Linked DNA regions of Homo sapiens: region 2 is linked to region 1. The links are contacts of gene promoters, found by promoter capture Hi-C in human tissues and cell types (Jung and others, 2019). All regions are on one chromosome and are shown on one strand. Each heading gives the region's core, a stretch centred on a gene start or on the middle of the fragment in contact. The rest is flanking DNA. Distances are from core to core; before and after follow the strand shown. Region 1 holds the start of FMO3 (flavin containing dimethylaniline monoxygenase 3). Region 2 overlaps FMO1-AS1 (FMO1 antisense RNA 1).

What was found. The method cuts DNA at HindIII sites, captures the fragments that hold promoters and counts their contacts. A contact is called where the count stands out against the background at its distance.
Region 2: a fragment that was not itself captured here is called in contact with the fragment with the promoter of FMO3 in region 1 in 5 of the 25 tissues and cell types used here (aorta, mesenchymal stem cells, neural progenitor cells and 2 more).

What each region holds. Positions count from the first base shown.
Region 1 is chr1:171,089,179-171,092,640 of GRCh38, reverse strand. FMO3 (flavin containing dimethylaniline monoxygenase 3) reads right to left here and starts at 1,736. Exons shown (of 9, transcript NM_001002294.3): 1 at 1,660-1,736. The HindIII fragment of the contact is 16,457 bases long and covers 1-3,462 here.
Region 2 is chr1:171,171,946-171,175,678 of GRCh38, reverse strand. All of the region lies in intron 2 of FMO1-AS1 (FMO1 antisense RNA 1), which reads left to right. Among named protein-coding and RNA genes, the nearest start is that of FMO2, 11 kb to the left of the region's middle. The HindIII fragment of the contact is 6,992 bases long and covers 1-3,733 here.

The DNA.
Region 1 (3,462 bases), core at 487-2,986:
CCAGAGAACATTTCCAGTAACAACATTGCTGAAAATGTATTTACTTATTTATCTATTTATTTTGATTTCGCTCTTTGGCTTAATAAAAACTTTACTTTTTAATAAACACTGGCTGAGTATGGTAGCTCACGCCTGTAATCCCAGCACTTTGGGAGGCTGAGGTGGGAGGATCACTTGAGCCCAGGAGTTTGAAAGCAGCCTGGACAACAGAGTGAGACCCTGTCTCCACAAAACAAAACAAAAAACAAACAAAATCAGCTGGGTGTGGTGGCACATGCCTGTACTCCCAGCTACTCAGGAGGCTGAGGCGGTAGGATCACTTGAGTTCAGGAGTTCCAGGCTGCAGTGAGCCGTGATTGTACCACTGCACTCCAGCCTGGGTGACAGAGTAAGACCTTGTCTCTAGAAAACAAATTCCTTTTAGTGATCTAACTACATTTTCATTTCTCTCTAATTTCTAAAGAGAAAGTTTTCTTCTGAAAAAAAAATAAGCACTTTGTTTTTAGTCATCAGCTCTCCAAAATTAAGAGACTGATGACCCAGCATACATATTTATCTTTTTTGCTTTTGGACTTTGTCATTTACTGTCTACCAAAAAGAGTAAGCAGAAGAAATAAAGATTCGCAACTAAAACACCTGTAGACACATCCACCCACCCACCCACATACATATGCCTGTATATGGGAATGAAGAAACACATATGTATATGTATACACACACACAGTCATACACACACACACACACACACGCAATCTGTATCTTCTTTTTACTTAGATACGGATAATGAGGAACAAGGTCTGAAGATGTCTGTATTTCAGTGTGCCAGGTAGTCACCCCTTCTCCCCATCAATAATGTACTTCACCTTCTCAATTAAAAAGACAAGTAAATGGTGCATACCTATAGTCCCAGCTACTCTGGGATTATATAGTCCTGTTGAGCTGGGGTATCGCTTGAGCCCAGGAGTTTGAGGCTGCAGTGAGCTATGGTTACAGCACTGCACTGTAGCCTAGGTGACAGAGTGAGACCTTCTCTCCGGGGGGTGTTGGGGAAAGAAGTCATGTTCTTACCTAAAAACAATTTTTTCCCACTACCTTCAGCGTCCATTCCCCTCTAAGAAAATTACGTTTCCTAACTTTTTTCTGTTCCTGACACTGTCTTTAGGCTCTACCACTACTTCTTTCACTACTTTTTTTTTTCTTTTTAGACAAAATCACATAGCTATGCAGGGAAATAGACTTGGATGATTAAACATCATGATCCGTGATTCCCAGAAACAAACAAACTGCCTGAATTATATCATTCTCATTCTAGCCATATTTGGTATAAAACTACAGCATGCTCCTTCTTCATTTACCCATCCCACCCTCAACCCTTTACTATATCACCTTTTATTCTTTTTCTTTTCTTTTTTTTTTTGAGACGGAGTTTCGCTTTTATCCAGGTTGGAGTACAATGGTGTGATCTCGGCTCACTGCAACCTCTGCCTCCCAGATTCAAGTGATTCTCCTGCCTCAGCCTCCCAAGTAGCTGGGATTACAGGCATGCACCACTACGCCTGGCTAATTTTTGTATCTTTGGTAGAGATTTGGTTTCACCATGTTGGTCAGGCTGGTCTCAAGCTCCTGACCTCAGGTGATCCACCCGCCTCAGCCTCCTACCTTTTTAATTTTCCTACCCGTTCTTTGTCTTCTTTTCTTCTGTGTGTCTACGTCCTGTCCAACCGTCTGGGCAGTTTGAAAGAGAAAATGTTCTAGTGAGCCTACATATTAGGAAGATTGTTGAAAAATGGGAGGAGCTGCTCTTAAAGAGATACTCATTTATTGGTCCTTGAATGGGTGAGCACACGCCAACCCTCTGTGATGGATGGGACTGTAGGCCAGTCTCCCATGGCCACCCAGTTTCTACTTTTCCTTTGATTATGGTAAACACAAGCTGCTGGTTATACTCTTGGACCCTTGGCCTGGGAGTCAAGTAGTTTCTCCCAGGTGACTTTGCAGTTCTGTACTCCATTTTATTATGTGTTATTTGAAAGTTTACCTTGTTTTCCTTATTCCTAGTTCTTTTGTGGGTAGCTCATAGTAGTCCTCCAAATACTGTAGAAACTTAGCTACTTAATTGAGATAGCCCAATAAGGAGGATGACTTTTCTCTGCTCTCTCTTTTCATGTCCTGTCTTGGAATTTTGGGGTCAAAGGCCTGTATTTCTCAAGCTTATATTTACTTGTTTCTGAGTACAGTGTGTGGTCACAGAAAAGATCAAAATTCCACAAATTGATCTATTAGTACCAGGAACCAGGTAAAATTAGTACCAGGTAAAATTATGTTGGCAGTTAGACAAAATAAACTGCACCTAACTCCCAGTCATGAAATATAGTAGAATTTCAAAAAAAGTTTTCCTATCAACTATATTTTGATGTCACTTAGAATTATAACATCTCACTCATTTTGTCTAGTTAACTCCTTCATTAAGCAAGTGATACTTAGTGTAAACTGGTATATGTCTAATTTTGAGGAATTACCCTTCATGCCTTTTGAAGACAGTAATCTTCATCTCTGAAGTGTGAGTATGAGAGATTCCAAATCACTTCTATAGCTCTGTGGCCTTGGGCAAATCACTTAACCTTTCCAATCGTTGATTTACTCATTAATAAAATAGGGATAACTACACTATTAATTCCTGTCTGGCTATTTTTTTTTTAACAAGGATTAGAGGATTAAAGGGTATGTACACATAAATACATGTATACATAGGTACATATAAAATGTGGCATGTAGTTAAAAATGAGCAAATGTGACTTGTAGATAAAAATTAAAAACAAGTCATAGGTTCATGAAATTTTCTAGGGCTGCAATTCAGACAACATGATTTTCTCTGCTCTCATTTTACATAGAACTTCTTTTCAGTTTTTAATGCTACATAAATAGAATTAAAATAATGCAAAGAAAAGATTGTGACTACTTCAGGAAGCAATACTACTCCTATAGCCTTATTCATTTAAAGATTGGCAGGACACACCCAATTCTACCTTGGCCTCCGATGTTTTATCTCTCTAGGAGGTGAAAAGGCCACCTATTCTTTGCTGTCCTTCACAAGAATGTATCTGAAGTCGACACATTTATTAGTCCTGTCTCTCTCTAGCCTATCCTTTGCTTGCCACAGCTTTCTGCAGAGCCCCTTTTTAAATCTTCAGAATCTCAAATGCCCAGGCTCTGGTTGGGGCAGTGGGCATTCTCTACTCTGTTGTCCCCTCCAAATCACAAAACTGCTAAGAAGAAACTTTCATCCCTGGATGGTTGCTAGATTATTGTTGCTGTTGGAGGATATGAGTGGAAGACTTATATTCTGTTCTCTTGCTCTATATTTTCTTTGTATTTTAAAGAAATTTTTGTTTTCTTCTAATTGATTTGCTGGAGGCAAGGCATATATCTCTTGTGACACCTGTTGTCATGTCTGATGATGCA
Region 2 (3,733 bases), core at 174-2,673, 83 kb before region 1:
GAGGAATTCGTTGAAAGTCTTTTTATGAAATGGATATTTCTCATCCTCATTCTGCAAACAACTATGAGACTGACCTTCCTTCATCCTGGATGGAGACTGGAGGTTTGATCTTTGTGGAAATTGAACTGGTAAAGTTCCAGACCTGATAATATAAAAAGGACTCAAAACCAGGGCAATTCACCAAGAAATTTCAGAACCCCAGAGATAGAGATTCCACAACCTTTCAGAAAAGGAAATACAAGTCGCATATAAAGGACAGGAAGTAGAATGAACAATGGGCTTTTAACAATATTGAAGCTCGAAGGCAATGGGGCAATGACTTTAAAAGTCTAAGGTAGTATCATTTTCAGCTTATACTTTTACATTTAGCTGAATTACTAATAAAGTGTGAGCATGGAAGTAATATATTTCAGTTACAGAAGAGGTATGACACATACTGTTTATTGGTTACCCAAAAGTTTCCAAGTTCATTTTTCTCTTTTTACCTTCCACTATAGGCTGGGAAAAATTATTTATCGTTATTTCAGATGCCCTTGTACTTAGAAGTCACCATGCAATCTCCACTCTGACCAGTGAGGTATAAACAGAATTCTCCCAGTGGATCTCTAGAAAACCTTTTGATTCCTTCCTCCCTATCTCCCCTCCCCTCTCCTCCCCATCTCCCCTCCCCTCTCCTCCCCCTCCCTCCCTCCCTCCATCCTTCCCTCCCTCCCTCCCTCCCTCCCTCCCTCCTTCCCTCCTTCCTTCCTTCCTTCCTTCCTTCCTTCCTTCCTTCCTTCCTTCCTTCCTTCCTTCCTTCCTTCTTTTCTTGTTTTCATCTCTCTCTCCTATCTCTCTGGACATAGCTTATCTTTATCTTATTTGTTTTTATGAAATTAGGATATTTTACCAGATTCCTTATTTAGTGGTGCCCTCTTCTGAAAAAGTAGAAAAGTTCAGATATTTAACAGTTTTCCTTTTGTTTGTTTGTTTTAATGATGATGATTGGGGAAGGGTTTTGAATCCTCCAATTTTATGGTTCTTTTTTTGTCTTATAGGACCCTAATTTTTTTCTTCCTTTTTTTCTTCTTTCTCCCTTCACTGCCAAATTGCCACAGGGCTTGTCTTCCTTCTTTTTGCCTTTTCTTTTCTCACTCAGAGCTATGCATTTCAAAGACCAACTTTTAAAATGTAGTCTCTCCTTTTAAATCTCACCTGTCTCTTTATATTGCATCAATCCTTTTCAATGGTGCCTGGTCCTTTAAATAGCTAGTATTTGAAATTACTTTCTAGTAGCCAGTACTCTGACTTGCTTACATGCTTTTTTACTGTTTCTAATGTAAACTAGTTTTATTTTATGATACTTTTTGAATTTACTGTAAAGAGACTCCAGTATGGCCAACATGGCGAAACCCCGTTTCTACTAAAAATACAAGAATTATTCAGGTGTGGTGGCTCATGCCTATAATCCCAGCATTTTGGGAGGCTGAGGCAGGAGGATCACTTGAGGCCAGGAGTTCAAGACCAGCCTGGCCCACATGGTGAAACACTGTCTCTACTAAAAATATAAAATTTTGCCCGGTGTGGTGATGTGCGCCTGTAGTCCTAGCTACTTGGGAGGCTGAGGCAGGAGAATCGCTTGAACCTGGGAGGTGGAGGTTGCAGTGAGCTGAGATTGCACCACTACACTCCAGCCTGGGCAACCGAGCAAGAGTCTATCTCAAACAAACAAACAAAATGTAAAGAGACTGACTAGTATTTACCTTTTAGGATGTCAGTGAAAATTAGTGAAAGCTTTGAATAATGATTTATTTAAAAATAAATGCAGTATGATTACTTTCAGGTGTGGTGAGGACCTTCGGGAGCACTTTCTTTGCAAAGAAGTAATTATTTATAATTGTTATATTTCTTAATTGTACGGATTTTATGTTAAAATAGTACCAGATTGCATTTTGTTTTCTTCAGTAGTCTAAGTTCCCCCATCAAAATATTGTTCACTTAATTTATTTACTCTGCAAACTTAAAAACAGAAGTTATAGTTAGCAGAAGTAAATTTTAGCTCAAACTATACCCATGACATTATGAATTTTACATAGAAATTTACTGAGACTTATAAGGAGTTAGTGTGTTTATACAGCTTCCTAGAGAGGGAGATGCTAAATTTCTCTTTATCACTCATTCTTTTAGCTGTCCTCACTACCAGGAAGTTCTTTACTGTGTTTAATCAAATCCTTTAAATCACATGAACAACTATTAAAACAAATTAAAAGTGGGCCCAAGGAGGCCTATGTGTGAGTTCCTAAATGCAGCCCAACTCAGCACTTAAACAAACTGAAAACCTAACTTAGGAACAGAATCTCAGCCAATCACAGATGGCCAATTCTTCAAACCATGTTCAAATAAGACAGATGTGAACTATAACCAATTGGGCTATCTCTGTACCTCAGTGCAGTTTTCTGTATGTCACTTCCTTTTCTCTAGTTACAAATATAACCTACACATTTGGTGGGGTGGAACATTCTGAGCCATTTTTGGACTGAACTGCTGCTCAATTCTAAAGTCACAAATAAAGGCCAATTAACGCCTGCAAAACTAGATTTGTTGTAATTTTGTCTTTTAACACAACACATTTCCAATATGACTAATGTTTAGGAAAACAAACAACTTGAATTTTTGCTGGCTTCTCTGCAGATACATTCATAACTTTAATCCTACTATATTTTGTGTGATTTAAAATTATGTTGTTTAATTTTATAAGTCAAAGATAATTTCCGGTCTATTTTAAAATATTTATATACTAGGATTGTAGCTCATATTCTATGAGAATATGTTATGGATAGAAGACTTTTTTTCCATAGTAACTGGAGGCAGGGTGGTAGGTGGAGGTGGTAAAGCCAGTAAATTGGTGTGATATCTGAATGGGGTGCTATTTTTAAAGAAATGATGAGTGTATGGATTTATTTAGTAAATATTTATTGAGTACATATTGTGTGCCAGGTATTGCACATACTTGAACTACTGAACAAGTTCTTGCCCAGTGAAAGTCTTTCAAGAACATACTTTCAAAAGTACGTAATAGTTTATAACTAGTACATTAATTGTGGGAATGTGATTGCTTCCACGGTATTTAAAATATTTTGTGTTGTATAATAGTTTAAGCTTTCTCTTACAATTTTGTTTATAGTGCTAAGTGTTCATGAAATATCCCTTTTATAGATAAAATAAAGGGACACTTCAGCCATGTTCTTGTCAAAATTGTCATAAGTTCTGAATTATTGAAATCAGGCCTAGATTGTTGCAGTGGCTTTTCAACTGGTGTTCTTGTTTGTAGTCTTTCCCATTTATAATAAATTCTCTGCCTTGAAGGTAAAAGTATTTTCCTATACTGTTAAATCAATTTTTGCTACTTCCCTGCTTAAACACCCCATTGGTTTCCTATTTAAACATTGTTTTGAGTCATTTAATGAGCTGTAGGTGAAGAAACACGATTTTCTCTCTACCCTGCATGAGTTCTTAGTTGGGACAGACCTTTGTAATAAAAGATTAATAAGAGAAAAACAGAAGTTTAATTACATGTATATCTTATCTATACATTTTCAGGGAAAAATGAGTTCTCTGGAGTAGATCTGAAACAGGTGGCTTTGACTTCGAGCTTAAATACCATGGTTCCCTGATACAAAGAAGTATGTGAGAGAGACTCAGTTATGACAAGAAAAAAATTATGCCAAGAAAGGCCTGTTAAACAAGAACAAGG